6 separate regions of the Homo sapiens genome follow, and all the other regions are linked to region 1. Evidence: promoter capture Hi-C in 16 types of primary human blood cells and fetal thymus (Javierre and others, 2016). All regions are on one chromosome and are shown on one strand. The core of a region is centred on a gene start or on the middle of the fragment in contact, and the rest is flanking DNA. Distances in the headings are between cores, read along the strand shown.

The links. Contacts are between HindIII fragments. The CHiCAGO score rates a contact against its expected background, and 5 or more counts as called.
Region 2: a fragment that was not itself captured here is called in contact with the fragment with the promoter of NFYC in region 1 in 1 of 17 cell types (neutrophils); the score reaches 5.8 in neutrophils.
Region 3: a contact is called between a fragment that was not itself captured here and the fragment with the promoter of NFYC in region 1, in 1 of 17 cell types (neutrophils). The highest score is 5.5, in neutrophils.
Region 4: a contact is called between a fragment that was not itself captured here and the fragment with the promoter of NFYC in region 1, in 1 of 17 cell types (neutrophils). The highest score is 5.9, in neutrophils.
Region 5: a fragment that was not itself captured here is called in contact with the fragment with the promoter of NFYC in region 1 in 1 of 17 cell types (neutrophils); the score reaches 5.3 in neutrophils.
Region 6: a contact is called between a fragment that was not itself captured here and the fragment with the promoter of NFYC in region 1, in 1 of 17 cell types (neutrophils). The highest score is 5.7, in neutrophils.

The regions. Positions count from the first base shown.
Region 1 is chr1:40,690,396-40,693,095 of GRCh38, reverse strand. NFYC (nuclear transcription factor Y subunit gamma) reads right to left here and starts at 1,392. Exons shown (of 10, transcript NM_014223.5): 1 at 1,229-1,392. It overlaps NFYC-AS1 (NFYC antisense RNA 1), which reads left to right and starts at 835. Exons shown (of 1, transcript NR_024567.1): 1 at 835-2,700. It also overlaps a transcript of RIMS3 not described here. RefSeq lists enhancers at 405-454, 475-644 and a silencer at 885-984. The HindIII fragment of the contact is 4,450 bases long and covers 1-2,700 here.
Region 2 is chr1:40,079,576-40,082,275 of GRCh38, reverse strand. PPT1 (palmitoyl-protein thioesterase 1) reads left to right here. Exons shown (of 9, transcript NM_000310.4): 6 at 1,789-1,879. Among named protein-coding and RNA genes, the nearest start is that of PPT1, 16 kb to the left of the region's middle. The HindIII fragment of the contact is 1,799 bases long and covers 383-2,181 here.
Region 3 is chr1:40,060,939-40,063,810 of GRCh38, reverse strand. It overlaps CAP1 (cyclase associated actin cytoskeleton regulatory protein 1), which reads right to left. Exons shown (of 13, transcript NM_006367.4): 4 at 1,999-2,076. Among named protein-coding and RNA genes, the nearest start is that of CAP1, 22 kb to the right of the region's middle. The HindIII fragment of the contact is 3,835 bases long and covers 1-2,872 here.
Region 4 is chr1:40,155,198-40,157,980 of GRCh38, reverse strand. LOC105378671 (a long non-coding RNA gene) reads left to right here. Exons shown (of 3, transcript XR_947232.3): 2 at 136-240. Among named protein-coding and RNA genes, the nearest start is that of RLF, 4.8 kb to the left of the region's middle. The HindIII fragment of the contact is 2,123 bases long and covers 301-2,423 here.
Region 5 is chr1:40,132,351-40,135,050 of GRCh38, reverse strand. It overlaps the pseudogene OAZ1P1. Among named protein-coding and RNA genes, the nearest start is that of RLF, 28 kb to the left of the region's middle. RefSeq lists an enhancer at 1,667-2,166. The HindIII fragment of the contact is 4,652 bases long and covers 1-2,700 here.
Region 6 is chr1:40,098,439-40,101,138 of GRCh38, reverse strand. No RefSeq gene overlaps it. Among named protein-coding and RNA genes, the nearest start is that of PPT1, 2.5 kb to the right of the region's middle. The HindIII fragment of the contact is 1,194 bases long and covers 704-1,897 here.

The sequences.
Region 1 (2,700 bases), core at 143-2,642:
TACAAGGAAATAAACCAAGACCGAAAATTTCTGGCTAGCTCCCTTTCCCTTAAAGGGGAACCTAACAATATTTACTCAACAAATAACTACCAACTACCTAATATTTGCTAATGTGGCTTTGGAAACTCAGCCATGACCTGTATCCTTCCTAGAGCAGCAAATTTCATATACAACATCTCAAAACTACTTGTATGGTCCTGAGACTCAATAATGTATAACTGTTCTATTAATACACTTCCCAAGTCCGAAAATGTCCCCTAAAATGCTTCCTATATCAGATTTTGTCACTTTAAATCTGATACTACTTAATGCTGTGCTTCCTAGGCTCGGACAGAGCACACTTCTCAATAGCATTCCTCTCTCGGTTTACTTGCTCCTCACATCACATCCCAGGTCCGTTGACTCTGGACTCCAGGGCTCCACCAAAACCTCAGTGTTTGAATGCTTGCACTCTCCAGCAAAATCCCTGATCCGATTCTACCGTTCAGCTATGCCCCTAGCCCTGATGCCTTTCTTCCTACACCATACACTCACACCGTGGACTTCAGGGCCACTTCCAAACTGGGTCACATTAGCAACCCTGGATCTCGAAGACTCTCAGCCTGTCACTTGGGTTTCGGTGTTTCCAAGCCTGGAACCCTGAGGGCCTGCACACCCCAATCTTGGGCCATGCATGTACCAGGAAAAGCACCTCTGAAAGTGAGTGTCCCCCATTCCCAGGCCATGGCCTAAGCTACCCCCAAAGTACCTGCCAGGCCATCACCCTCTCTTCCCCCTTAAAGCCTCTAGGCTCGCCCTCTCGCCGCAACCCCACGCCTGCGCCGCAGGGGGTCATTGCCCCAGCCGCCCTAGCCCAAGACGCGCGCATCCCCGCAGCCTCAGATTCCTTCATCACCCCCTAGACCGGAGCTGGCGCGTCCAATAAGGTGCCAGGTCCGCGGCCTCCCCGCCACCGACCAATCACGAGCGAGCCCCCCCGCCGTCGCCTTCCGCCAATGGGAGAAAGCCCGCGGGCCGGGCCGACGAGGCACACGGACCCCACGAGCGCGGCGGCGGCGACAGCAGCGGGCCAGGCAAGAGCACAACATGGCGGCGGGCAGGACGGACCGAGCTACAGCAGCGGCCGCGCGAGGAAGTGAGGTCTCTGGCGAAGGCGGGAAGCGCTGCCCCTCCCCCCGCCGCCGCTTCCCTATCACCCTCGCACAGAAACTCCCGCACACTCACACACCTCTGCTCAGGAGTCCAGGAAGAGCAGGAGCCGCCCCCGCGCTCCTACGGAGTCGGGCAATGCAGAGGCCCAGGCGCGGCGGAGGGGAGGGGGAAGTGTGCGTCACGGAGAACGGAGCGCGCGCGAAGCGGGGGCACAAGCAAGATGGCGGCCACGCCGTTTGCACCGTTTCCCCTTTTCCCTTCCCCCTCCCTTGGCGCCTGGACTCCCAGTATCGTGCGGTGCGCAGAAGCTGTGCTCCTTGAGGTCTCGCGAGAATTGGGAAGGGGCGACGACAGAGGGAGGCGGAATGAGATCTGAGAGTTTTAACCCCGCCCCCTTTCGGGAGCTCGAGATCTGAGTTTTGACCCCGCCCCCTTTCGGGGGATCCGGAGGCGCTGCCCAGTGACCTCCACCACCCTGCCTATCCTTGTGGATCTCCTTGGTGCGAGCTTGAATTTTAGGAAATAAGTAGGTGTGTGCGCGTGCCCTTGAGTTTTAGGAACTAAGTAGGGGCGTGTGTGTGTATTTGTGTTTTTAATTTGGGGAGAAAGAACTGGGGGATGAAGGTCGACATGGCGTTCCAGATTAAGCATGCCGTTCAAGTAGACAGCTACTGGCACCTTAAATTCATAAAAGAGCATTTAGCACCAAACTGTAAAGTGATGTCCTCTAGAATAAAGAACAGTACTTACCAAGAATAGTTAGCTTGTAACCTTACGTCGACATAGTTGTTCTTATTTGAATGCAGATTTTAAAGTTTTATCACGCAGTTGGAAACCACAGCTACTATGAGCATGGATTTTTTCATACTTATCTCTTTCATTTCCGTGACCACTTGGTCCAAAGGCATCAGGATTGTATCCATTTTACAAATGATAAAACTGAAGCTCAAAAAGGTTAAGTAACTTGATCTAAGTCCCCACAGCTAGTAAGTGTCAAAACCCCATCCGAATAACTTCAAAACCTGTAGGTATAGTCATCAAATGTGTCTTGAATGGAATTACCTACAGTGAGAGTTAGTGCATTAGGTAACAAGCGCAGAGAGGAATGACTGCCTCTGCTGATGGTAACCTTGAATTTTACAAATGACACTGGAGCCTTTCTGAGACTAGTGTTGCATGGGTCCTCAATAAAATCACACTGTTGTTACTCACTTCCTTTGGGTTTATAACCCTGGTGATAAAGTAATTGAGAATAGTGGAGTAAACCCTCGACTTGAATTCAGGAAAATTGTTTTCAAATCCAGTTTCAATAAATCTCACATCAGGCACTCTATTTGATGAATGAATGAACAAAACCTAACTATAAGACACTTGACTTCAGGGAGTCTCAATTCCTTCATCTGTAAAAAGATCTAATTCCTAACTTTTGGTAATGTTGGGGAGAGTGAATGAAATAATGTGAGAGTGCTTCGTAAATTGCAAAAGTGTTATAAAGAAGTTACTGGTAAGAGCTACGAGTGTCTCGCTGCACTCTAGCATGGGCGACAG
Region 2 (2,700 bases), core at 33-2,532, 610 kb after region 1:
GGCTCTGTTGGGCTTTAGCGCCAGCCTGCTCCACCGAGTGGCGTTTTCAGGACCACTGCCTCTGGGCAGCTCTTCCACTCTGGCTACGGAGCGTATGTTGTAGAAATTTTGATTTCTCTCCCTGCCAACCTGGGATAGAGTTTGTTCGAATTTCCCCATGTGAGGCCTTGGGGTAACCGTGCCCATTTTGAGGAGGTGGGGGCTGGAAGGGAAGAGGAAGTGGAGAGAGATTGGAAAGAAAGTATAAAGAGTCCCCTTTGCTCCAGTTCCCAGCAAGTTCCTCATCTCCATCTGAGACTACCTCAGCCTGGACCTTATTGTCTATATCACTATCAGGCTTTTGGTCAAAGCCATTCAACAAGTCTCTAGAAAGTTCCAAGCTTTCCCACATTTTCCTGTCTTCTTCTGAGGCCTCCAAACTGTGCCAGCCTCTGCCTGTTACCCAGTTCCAAAGTCACTTCCACATTTTGGGTAACTTTTCAGCAGCACCCCACTCTACTGGTACTTATTTACTGTATTAGTCTGTTTTCATGCTACCGATAAAGACATACCCGAGACTGGGCAAATAGAGGTTTATAATGGACTTACAGTTCCATGTGGCTGGGGAAGCCTCACAATCATGGCGGAAGGCGAAAGGCACATCTCACATGACGGTAGACAAAAGAAGAGAGCTTGGGCAGGGAAACTCCCCTCTTAATTTTATTTTCTATTTATTTATTTATTTATTTATTTATTTTTTGAGATGGATTCTCGCTCTGTCTCCCAGGCTGGAGTGCAATGGCGTGATCTTGGCTCACTGCAACCTCAGCTTCCCAGGTTCAAGCGATTCTCCCTCCCTCTGCCTCCCAAGTAGCTGGGATTACAGGCACATGCCACCGTGCCTGGCTAATTTTTGTATTTTTAGTAGAGACGGGGTTTCCTCATGTTGGCCAGGTTGGTTTCGAACTCCTGACCTCAGGCGATCTGCCCGCCTTGGCCTCCCAAAGTGCTGGGATTATAAGCATGAGCCACAGAATCTGGCCCAACTCCCCTCTTTGAAACCATCAGATCTCATGAGACTTATTCACTGTCACGAGAACAGCACAGGAAAGACCCACCCCTGTAATTCAGTCACCTCCCATGACATATGGGAATTGTGGGAGTTACAATTCAAGATGAGATTTGGGTGAGGACACAGCCAAACCATATCAGCATGATAAGTATGATAAACCCCAGTGTCACAGGAGAAGCAAATATTGATGAGTCCTTTGCCTGAATCTTTTATAATTTCTGTACTATGCTGAACAGTCTGTCTCAACAAGGTGTCTTGTTGACAGACTGTTTCCTAGGTGCAAGTCTTGTCTTCTGTATTAAAGGGTAAGGCCTGGGACTTGAGGGCTTTGGCCTTTTGTCCTTGTTTTTTGAGACAGAGTCTCACTCTGTCGCACAGGCTGAAGTGCAGTGCTGCGATCTCAGCTCACTGCAACCTCTGCCGCCGGGGTTCTAGCAGTTCTCCTGCCTCAGCCTCCCAAGTAGCTAGGATTACAGGCGCCTGCCGCCGCGCCTGGCTAATTTTTGTAGTTTTAGTAGAGACGGGGTTTCACCATCTTGGCTAGGCTGGTCTTGAACTCCTGACCTCGTGATCCACCTGCCTCAGCCTCCCAAAGTGCTGGGATTACAGGTGTGAGCCACTGTGCCTGGCTGGCCTTTTGTCCTTTTAAAGTCTCTTGGTGGCCTTTGCACTGAGCATGCCCTGGGCGTACTGACTGACCTGTAGCTTGATCACCTCATTCTTTTTTTTTCCTACAGCCTCGTGCAAGCCGAATACTGGCATGACCCCATAAAGGAGGATGTGTATCGCAACCACAGCATCTTCTTGGCAGATATAAATCAGGAGCGGGTAAGCACCCAAACCGGGCTCCCATAGATGTGCGTTCTTTTTCCTGTTTAGGTCTTCATAAACAAATCAGCAGTGACTGTTTACCCAAACTGTCCTGGGCAGACACTAGGAAAGAGAAGTTCTGTTTTTTTTGGGAGGCAGGGCCTTTGAGATTCAGTTCCCTTTAGGGAGGTTGAAATTCATTTGCCTTTCTTCCCTTAAGTTCTTTCCCTCTCCTAGTGTTGAAACACACAGGATAAGCTCGGCAGGTTGCTGACTGGGCGAGGTGGAAATTCACAGCTGCTGTCTTAATGAGGGAAGCTTTCCTGATGGATCAGTCTGGGGGTGGATTTTTCTCTAGAGATTTACCTAAAAGAGAGATACAGTAGGCACTGAGTATGTCCCAGACACAAACATGGTTTGGTAGGTTCTGGTAAACTAGATGGCTCAGTTTATATTTGACTCATCTGGAGAGTCTTTTGGTTTTTTGTTTTGAAACAGTTTGAAGGGAAAAACAAACCAAACAAAAAACAACACAGAATAGTATATAGCAGAACGACCCAGAATTTGCAGTTTCTTATTTTGTCTTGGCTTTCTCTGACTAGAAGCCTCTCACCTATGTGATGGACACCTATGGAGTGTGGTGTAAACTCATAGTTGTACCTGTATGCCATGCTCAGTGGCATGTCAGTCAGATAGGATGGTAAGAAAAGCCTATAGAAGGCCGGGCGTGGTGGCTCACGCCTGTAATCCCAGCACTTTGGGAGGCCGAGGTGGGCAGATCACTTGAGGTCAGGAGTTCGAGACCAGCCTGGCCAGCATAGTGAAACCCTGTCTCTACT
Region 3 (2,872 bases), core at 249-2,748, 630 kb after region 1:
TGTTGTCAGCATAACCAATCTTGGCATTTTATCACTCACCAATACAAACTATTAATGGACCCATGTGAATATGTTTTACTTTCTCATTAATTCTTCAAAGACGAGCTCTTTTATCATCATGAAAGCCCCCAATGCATTGCCAGCCATATAGTAGCTGCTGTAAAGAACTGATGAATCAAATGCAATTAGGGGGCTTAGTCTGGGCATGGTGACCCACGCCTGTAATCCCAGCACTTTGGGAGGCCAAGGCAGGAGAACTGCTTGAGACCAGGAGTTCAAGACAGACTGAACAACACAGCACAACTTTGTCTCTACAAATAATAAAAAGAATTAGGGCCAGGCATGGTGGCTCACGCCTGTAATCCCAGCACTTTGGGAGGCCAAGGTGGGCAGATCGCTTGAGTCCAGGAGTTTAAGATCAGCCTGGGCAACATGGGGAAACCCCATCTCTATAAAAATACAAAAATCAGCTGGGCATGGTGGCGCATGCCTGTAGTCCCAGCTATTCAGGAGGCTGAGGTGGGAGAATCACTTGAGCCTGGGAGGTGGAGGTTTCAGTGAGCCGAGATCCTGCCACTGCACTCCAGCCTGGGCGACAGAGAGAAACTCCATCTCAGAAATAAATAAATAAATAAGTAAGTAAATAAGCAAGCCAGGCATGGTGGTGCACACTGTAGTCAAGGCTACTCAGGAGGCTGAGGTGGGAGGATCATTACACCTGGGAGGTCAAGGCTTCAGTGAGCTGTGATTGCACCACTACCCTCCAGTCTGGGTGACAAAACAACACCCTGTCTCAAAAAAAAAATTTTTTTTTAAACATAAATAAAATAAAAAACAATTAGGGGCTTAGCATTCAAGTAGGCACCTTGGCAAAATGGATGAATTTTGTTTGTGTTTGCACCCTTCCTCCAAAGCTCCATTTCCTGAACATCTCAATTCTCAGATCTTAACCATTCAGGACAGATTAAGAATTAAAATCTAATTCTACATATTAGAATTAGATGGCATCTATACACACACACACACACACACACACAATGTTTTTTGAGAGAAGGTCTTGCTCTGTCGCCCAGGCTGGAGTGCAGTGGTGTGTTCATGGCTCACTGCATCCTCAAACTTTCAGGCCCAAATCTTCCTCCCATTTCAGCCTCTCAAGTAGCTGGGACTATACGCATGCACCACCTTGCCTGGCTATTTTTATTTATTTTATTTTTTTAATTTTTAATAGAGACGAGGTCTTGCTATGTTGCCCAGGCTGGTCTCAAACTCCTGGCCTCAAGTGATCCTCCTGCCTCAGCCTCCCAAAGTGCTGGGATTACAGGAATGAGCCAGCACACTTAACCAGAATCTAATATATTTGACATTATCTTGCACTATTTTTATATTATCTAGGCATGCTGAGGGTCAAGGGTTTTAATACAGCATTTAGGACAACTTGCTTTATTATTCCTCTGTAACTAGGAAAACCAAATGCAAAAGAAGGAAACCTATATTCTTTGACTCCAAGAGAAATCTAAATTTTCTCTAATTCAACTTTTCACATCTTGCACCATAAAATTTTGAGGTGGGAGTAAAATTAAAGAGAGAGTCTCCCAACCAGTGAAGGATGAGGAGAGAAGCAATACTGTAGGAGTTTTAAGATCTCCACAGGAGCACTACTAAAGCCCATCCACAGTGAAGCAAGAGAATCATCTTTAAAGGGCTTTGGAGACACTATGATGAATGTGGACTCAGCAAAGAGGCAGGCAAGCAAAGTCCCAGGGATAACCACAGTCCTATGCAAAATGACAGAGAAAAAGCCAGTAGAGACCATTAAGTACCCAATAGTACCTTCCCATTAAGGCACTTGAAGTATGGCTCTACCTCTGGGACTTGGTATGAACATATATTATCAAAAGCCTAGTAGGTCTATTTTAAAATGTTATAATAGCTTGACATAAATCTCTCAACTCGTCCTGAGCATCAAACCAAAATGAAACCAGCTAGTAGTGAACTTACTTCTGCTGGCTGTTGACACTGAGAAGCTGTAACCAACAGAGCTCGCTCCAACTTCAAACCTGTGTGGACCATCTCCGCCTGCCAGAAAGAAGAATCAGCTATTGATGACACATTATAACTAGAGAAGTCTTGATAAGAATAACCTGAAACCTCTACTTCCATGTACTCTGATAGCAACCCAGGCACTTCATGTTATCCTCCTCATGTATTCCAGATTCCAGGGACTGAGAGCAGAATTACATACACTACTGTTCCTATTGGAACTCATCAGGGATATATATCCAGAGTTGGAAGTGAAGTTAATTGGATAATCACCTAGCTTACATGAAGTCATGTTAGCATCTTACACATGCATTGTGATACCGTGCACTGAAAAATCCTTCCTATTTCACATCAGCAAAATAAAACAAACAGCAACCAAAAAAACACCTTTCTTTTCTCAAAAATTGGAGACAGGAGTAAAGGCAAAGGCCTAAATTTCTGCTGAAAATTCTCAAGGTATTTACTCCTTTAGATTAAAGCTATCTCTCAAATGCCAGATACCATGACCCATTAATAAATAATTAAATCAATTTAGTGAGCTTAATGGAACAAAAGTATGAGTGCAGTGCACCAACTTCAAGTTATTTCCAAATAAAAAGTTAAAAAAAAAAAAAGTACAGCAGAAGTAGTATAAATATCATCTTGTGAAACTTTTATCTCAGTTACGAATATGTTCTTTCTTTCTAAGGGTCATTCGCAGTCAAAAGAATTTAAGAAACATGAGACTGTAAGCACTATTAAAATACAAAAATTCAAAGAAAGCAATCTATTTTTTCTGGATTTGCATTTTTAAAATACAAATGATAAATGTTTTAAAGTTTTTTCAAATGTT
Region 4 (2,783 bases), core at 113-2,612, 540 kb after region 1:
AGTGAGCCGAGATTGCGCCACTGCACTCCAGCCTGGGCGACAGAGCAAGACTCTGTCTCAAAAAAAGTATATATATGTATATATATATAAATATTATTCTCTATTTTTTTATATCTTTGTAATACAAATAATTAGGTTTAGGCCAGCATGTCTGGAGTATGGTGCAAGAGAGAGAAAGAAGTGAAGATGAGATTGGAGAAGGAGCAAAGAGCCAGGTCATGTAGGACAGTATAGCTCAAGGTAAGCAGTGGGGATTTGAAGTGTACTGAGTAATCATTGTTTTACTGAGTAATCAAAGCTTTAAGTGGAGGTGTAACTTTGTCTGGTTTACACTCTTGCTGCCATGTGAGAATAGGTGGTGAGAGGCGAGAATGAAAGCAGGGAACCTATTGTAGTACTCCAGATGATCAAGTTAGAGATGTATTTTGGAAGTAGAACTAACAGGCTGATGCACTGTTTTTGAGGAAATTGAAATAATCTGGAATGGCTACATGGCTTTTGGTTTGAATGGTGGGCAATGATGTTTATTGAGAAAAGGAAGGCTTAGGAAAGAACAGACTGGGGATAGAGTGAGGGAGAATCAAGAGTTCTATTTGGAACAGGTTAAGTTTGATTTTCCTGTGAGTTCCTATGAGACATTTAAATGGAGATGCCAGATAGGCACTTGTATGTGTGACTGTGGAGCTTCAGCTGAAGATGTGGGGCCATCAGCTGTTCCACCTCTGTTAGGCAAAAAGAAAAATAAATCTCTAGTGACTCCACCACATCTTCATCTAGCTTCCATCCCACTTCTTTGCTTCCTTTTATAGAAAAACTTCTCTAAAGAGCTGGCCAGACCTTCTGTTTCTACTTACCCTCTTCTCATTCTTACTTGAACTCTTCTCAGTCAGGTTTTATCCCCACCAGTCAATGAAACAGCTCATTTTAACACCACCAGTGAGTTCTACTTTTGTGTGTGTCCAAAGGTGAATTATCAGTCCTTGTTTAGTCAATCTCTTAGCAGTATTTGGCATTGTCGATAATTCCCCAACATTTAATTTCACTTGGATTCCAAGTCTGCACATTCTCCTGGTGTTTTTTTTCTTGATTTCTTTTCTTTTATTCTCTCTTTTCTTTGTGATTTCTAAGTGTCCCAGGCATAGTCTGTCAACTTCTTTTCTATCTACACTCACTGCTACACTCACCCAGTTCTAATACATGTATGTGCTTATGACAATACCACCCTAAGTCCAGGCAACAAGGGCCCTGCCCTGGGTCCCACACTTTAGAGGACTACACAAACCTCTCTCTCTCTTTCTTACACACACACACATGCACACACACACACACACACACAGTAACTATATTAAAGAACACATGGGCACCCCTATCATTTGAAATCCAGCACTCAGCACAAGTACAATCTTAAATATTTGCTTTCTTGAGGCAGGGTCTCACTCTGTCACCCATGCTGAAATGCAGTGGTATGATCACAGCTCACTGCAGCCTTGGCCTTCCTGGACTCAAGCAAGCCTCTCACGTCAGTCTCTTGAGTAGCTGAGACTACAGAAATGCAACAACAAGCCTAGCTTTTTTCCATTTCTATTCTTTTCTTTCTTCCTTTGTTTCTTTGTTTCTTTCTTTCTTTCCTTCTTTCTTCTTCTTCTTCTTTTTTTTTTTTTTTGACGGAGTTTCCCCTTTGTCACTAGACTGGAGTGCAGTGGGGTGATCTCAACTCACTAGAATTTCTGCCTCCTGGGTTCAAGAGATTCTTCTGCCTCAGTCTCCTGAGTATCTGGGATTGCAGGTGTGCATCACCACACCCGGATAAATATTTGCTTTCTTTACCACTACTATTCAGGCTTTAGGGAACCTCTTTATCACGTCTCTTGCTCCATATACTCAAAGCTGAAAGGCACCAAAAGAATTGAAACCAGAGACATGAACAAATATTTGTACATTTGTGTTCACAACACTGTTATTCATAATAACCAAACGATAAAAATGACCCAAATGTCCATGAATGAATGAATAAATAAATGAATGTGGTATAGACATGCAATGGAATGTTATTCAACCTTAAAAAGGAAAGAAATTCATTCCTGAAAAAACAGGGGGAGGGAGGAAATTCTGACACGTGCTACAACATGGATAAATGTTGATTATGCTAAGTGAAACAAGCATCATAAAAAGACAAATGTTGTATGAGTCCACTTATATGAGGTATATAGAGTAGTCAAATTCATAGAGTAAGAAAGAATAATGGTGGTTGCCAGGGGCTGGGGGAGAGAGAGGCCAGCAGAGTTATTGTTTAATGGATGTAGAATTTCAGTTTGGGAAGATGAAAAAGTTACGGTGATGGAGGGTGGTGATGCTTGCACAACAATGTGAATGTACTTAATGCCACTGAACTATACACTTAAAAATGGATAAAATGATAAGCTTTACCTTATGCATATTTTACCACCATTAAAAAAATGAAAGACAACTGCATCCTAATGTCTTGAAGGTTTTGGGTTGTGCTACTTAAGAGAAATAGGCACACTGTTTTTGAAATGCTACGTAGAGTGTGTTCGAGCTACAGAAGCACTTGGGTAAGAGAAAACACAAATTAGCTTGTCATACTCTTCCTCTTAGATAGCATAAATGCATTTTCTTGCATAACCATGTATTGTTTCTTGGTAGTGGCAGATGTTCCTTTTTTTAATTGTCTCCATACACACATATGCGTATACACTGATATATACATGTATCTGTCTAGATGTAACATGAGTAGAGAGTAAGACTGAACATTTACATAATCA
Region 5 (2,700 bases), core at 145-2,644, 560 kb after region 1:
CATGTTGTTGTGCTCCTGCAGTCTCAGGTACTCAGGAGGCTGAGGTGGGAGGATTGTTTGAGCCCAGGAGTTCAAGACTGCAGTAAGCTATGATTATGCCAGTATACTTCAGCCTGGGTGACAGAACAAGACCCTGTTGAAGAAGAAAAGAAGGAGGAGAAGGAGACAGAGAAGGAGAAGGGGAAAGAGGAGGAGGAGGAAGAGGAGGATGAGGAGACCTACTATGAGATTCAAGTGATTCTTAGTATGAGGAAGAAGAAGAGGAGGAGGAGGAGGAGGAGGAGACCTAGTATGAGATTCAAACGATTCTTCTCCCTCAGCCTCCCAACTAGCTGGGATTACAGGCGCCTGCCACCACACCCAGCTAATTTTTGTATTTTTAGTAGAGATGGGGTTTCACCGTGTTAGCCAGGATGGTCTCAATCTCCTGACCTCGTGATCCGCCTGCCTCAGCCTCCCAAAGTGCTGGGATTACAGGCGTGAACCACTGCCTCACATTTTTATTTCTATTGGACAGTGCTTCCTTATATGGTAATAATTGTGATTGTTTACTCAAGTCATGACCATAGCTCTAAGGTGGAACTTTCATAATTTGACTTAATAAATAATATTCTCAAATGTTTATAAACATATATTGATAATTTACTTCTACATTGTAACTATATTTTAACCATATCTCATGTTAACATCTCTTTATTTTATATTATCCTGGATTCAGGGCGTATATATAGATTTAACTTGTTCCAGTTGATTATAGGCATTGATTTCCATATTCAACCTGTCATGGTTTGACTGTCCCTGGGCGTGAAAACTTTCTTCTCAAACCTTCCTGTTTGACTCCTGCAACATTATACTTGAAACCCCCCAAAAATTCCTCCTTCCCATCAGTAACAAAATATATCAGGCATTTCTCTGCCTGGAGATTTGGCACTGGCCACTATTTTTATGAAGGTTAACATGGAGGATTTAGGCACCAGGGCTGCAATGTATCATCTTCAGTGACCGCAGGGTGTCAGCAGGGCCAAAAACAAAGCAAACATTTAACCATTTCATTGGCTGAATGAGACTTTTCAGAGTCATGGATTCAATTTAACTCTAATCTCATTATTTTTATCTTACTCTAATACAAATAATAATTCTAAATAAAATTAAAATTCTACATCAAAATCCTAATTATTTAACATTACAATCCTCCCTCTCCAACGTTCCTGATCCCTCTTATTCCGCTCTATTTCGTTAATGGCACTTATATCTTCCAGCATATCATGTCTCAATTTTCATTTCTTTTTTTTTTTTTTTTGAGACGGAGTTTCACTCTTGTTGCCCATTCTGGAGTGCAACGGCACGATCTTGGTTCACCACAACCTCCGCCTCCTGGGTTCAAGCAATTCTCCTGCCTCAGCCTCCCAAGTAGCTGAAATTACAGGCAGGCGCCACCACGCCCAGCTAATTTTTTTTTTTTTTTTTTTTTTTTAGCGTTCATTTGCAGTTACAACATGTGGATAAACCCAGGCGAGATGAGCGAGCCTACCGTTCGCACCCACCCGGCAGACGCCGGGGCGGCCCCAGGAGCTTGATGCCCAGTCCCGCTGCGGCCGCTACTACTCCTCGCCCAAAGACTCTCTCCCCGACGTGTAGGCCATGAAGCAAGTGTCGGGTCTCTTGGGGACAAGGGGTCTCACAATCTCAAAGCCCCAAAAGCTGAAGGTCCGGAGCAAGGCGGCTCTGTCCTCGTGGTTCTTGTGGAAGCAAATGAAGACATGGTCGGCGCTCAGCTGCTCCTCGGCGAACTGCTGGAGAACTGCAAAGCTATCCTCGCTCCCCTGGGGCAGCGCACCACCAGGAATCTCCGATGCAGAGGCTGCCGCCGCTCAGCACGGCTCGCCAGTTAATGCCAGTTTGGCATCTGTGAGCCTGGAGTGGACGTTGAGAATCCTCTTGTCGTTGAACGTTAGAATCTCTGTTACATGCAGTCGATCATAGGAGTAGAGTAGCTGAAAGATCGTGATCCCTCTGACGATTCCCTCGCCCACCCGGAATCTTCAGGGGTGGGCGACCGGCATCAGGGGTGCGCGAGGGGCATCAGGAGCACCACCGAGATCCCGGACCGGGTTACTACAGCAGCGGAGGGAGACCCTGGAACTCTTGCTGCTGCGGCCGCTGCGGCTGTGCAGGCTGAGGAGCGGCCTGGTGCGGCTGGCGTGGACGGTGGCGCTGGCTTTGATCCCCTTTCTTCTCTCTGGCAAAGCAGTGGCTTTTGAGGATTCGCTGCAGGGAGGAGTTCACCATCCGGCCCCTGGCATCCGGAACCTGGAAAACCTCTGCTGCGCCTCTCTGCGCCGTGCGCCCTTAAAGCACAAATTGAGACGTCCCATAAGTTATCGAATACCTTAAATTTATATTTATTTTTATAATAAATATAAAATTTATATTTATTTTTATAATAAATATAAAATTTATATTTATTGTTATTTATTTTTATAAATAAATACAAAAATAAGATTTGAATTTATTCATCCCTCTTTGAATTTTTACATCCATTGACACTGGTTAAGTGATCTTGTAAAAAAAAGTCTAGTTTATTTCCTGTCAGTAGGGGAAAAATGGCTTCCTTTGCTCATATTTTGTCATAAACAGCTTTGACAATAATTAAAAAAATAAAACCCTAAGCAAGAAAGGAAATAAATTAATTTATATAAA
Region 6 (2,700 bases), core at 51-2,550, 590 kb after region 1:
CCATTCTCCTGCCTCAGCCTCCCGAGTAGCTGGGACTACAGGTGCCTGCCACCACGCCCGGCTAATTTTTTGTATTTTTTAGTAGAGACGGGGTTTCACCGTGTTAGCCAGGATGGTCTCGATCTCCTGACCTCGTGATCCACCCGCCTCAGCCTCCCAAAGTGCTGGGATTACAGGCGTGAGCCACCGCACCCAGCCTCTTTTTTCTTGGCAATGCTTTGACCTTTCAGTGATAATGTACAAATATATAAATACACAGATGTCTTCTTTAAAAAAAGAACAGCTTTATTGAAATATATTCCACATGCCATAAAAGTCACCCATTTTATGTGTACAAACCAATGATTTTTAGTAAATTTATAGAGTTGTACAACCATCATATATGTATGTACATAAATACATAGTTATTTTCTTATGCCCTGTTTAACTTACTCTCCCAGTTCTAAAATGTACTTACCTACTTACCTATGCCCACAGCATGCCCACATGGCTAGAGGCTGCTTTTCAGAACTCTTGGGTAGTTCTGTTCCTGTCAATTGAGCTACTTGCTTACTAAATGCCTTTGGGCTTATTTTATTTATTTATTAATATATCGGTGATATTTGCTATCATAATTTAGTTAAATTTTTGAAAACATGAAATATGAGCATAAAGAGAAAAGAGATGTTTCTGTGAAAACTAAGTTGAATGCATTGGAAAAGCTTGTTAAAGGCAAGTTGTTAAAAAAAATTGTTAAAGTAACTCTGGGTCGGAAATCTGAGAGTGGAAAGTCTTCCATCTAGAATAATTTCACATCCAAACACTGTGGCTCACACCTGTAATCCCAGCACTTTGAGAGGCTGAGGCGGGAGGATCCCTTGAGCCCAGGAGTTCCAGGCTGCAGTAAGCTATGATTGTGTCACTGCAGTCCAACTTGGGGAATAGAGCAAGACCCTGTCGCAAAAAAAAAAAAAAAAAAAAAAAGTCATCATAGCACTATTCATAATAGCAAAGACATGGAATTAACCTAAGTATCCATCAACAGTAGACTGGATAAAGAAAATGTGGTAGGTATACACCATAGCATACTACACAGCCAAAAAAGGAATGAGATAATGTCCTTTGCAGCAACATAGATGGAACTGCTTAGGTCATTATCCTAAGCAAACTAATGCAGGAAAACAAAACCAAATACCACATGTTCTCACTTATAAGTGGGAGCTAAACATTAAGTACAGATGGACACAAAGAAGGGAACAACAGACACTGGGGCCTACATGAGGGTGGAAATGAAAAGTTACCTATTGGGTACTATGTTCATTATGGCAGTGACAAAATAAAACGTACACCCAACCTCCTTGACATACAACTTACCTATATAGCAAACTTGCATATGTGACCCTGAATCAAAAATAAAAAACAAAAAGAATGTTGGTCTGGCACAATGGCTCACAGCTGTGATCCTAGAACTTTGGGAGGCTGAGGGGGGCGGATTGCCTGAGCTCAGGAGTTCGAGACCAGCCTGGGCAACATGGCGAAACCCTGTCTCTACAAAAAACACAAAAAATTAGCGGGGCATGTTGGTGGTGTGTCTGTAATCCCAGCTACTCGGGAGGCAGAGGCACGAGAATCGCTTGAACCCGGGAGGTGGAGGTTACAGTGAGCCAAGATCACGCCACTGCACTCCAGTCTGGGGGACAGAACAAGACCCTGTCTCAAAAAAAAAAAAAAATTGCATTCAGATTGCTTCACAAGTGTCTTTCAGTTATTGCTCCAGTTTAAAGAAACCTTTAAAGAAATTATAAATAGTTCATTAAAGGCAGGAAACTTCATTGAGCGGGCTATATTCACAGAAAAATCCTGAAACTACTTCAATTTGTAAGTCTTAAGTTAAAATAAAATGCTTATACAATAAGCTTATTTTTCTTAAAACAAAACTGTATACTGTACTGTATAATGCTTTATGATTCTGCATTTTTTTTTCTTTGAGACAGAGTTTCACTCTTGTTGCCCAGGCTGGAGTGCAGTAGCTCAATCTTGGCTCACTGCACCCTCTGCCTCCTGGGTTCAAGTGATTCTCCTGTCTCAGCCTCCTGAGTAGCTGGGATTACAGGCACCCACCACCATGCCCGGCTAATTTTTTGTATTTTTAGTAGAGATGGGGTTTCATCATGTTGGCCAGGCTGGTCTCAAACTCCCAACCTCAGGTGATCCACCTGCCTCAGCCTCCCAAAGTGCGCCCAGTGGATTCTGCATTTTAATCGACTTTTCAACTAACAACTTACCTCTAGTCCCAATGGCATGGAATAGAAGAGATTACAGACCGTGGGTTTGTAATCGACTTTTCTTTTACAACATATTAAGGGCATTTTTCATGTCACTTTATGTAAATTTACCTCATTTTTCTTTTTTGAGAGAGACAGGGTCTCACTGTTGCCCAGGGCAACAGCGAGATCATAGCTCAGTGCAATGGCGAGATCATAGCTCAATGCAGCCTTGAACTCCTGGGCTCAAGTGATCCTCCCACCTTAGCCTCCCCAGTAGCTAGGATTACAGGCACATACCACCACCCCTGGCTAATTAAAAAAAAATTTTTTTTTTGTAGAGATGGGGTCTTGCTATGCTGCCTGGGCTGTACTCTCTTTTTATTTATTTTTTATTCTTATTTTTTGAGACAGAGTTTTGCTCTTGTTGCCCAGGCTGGAGTACAATGGTATGATC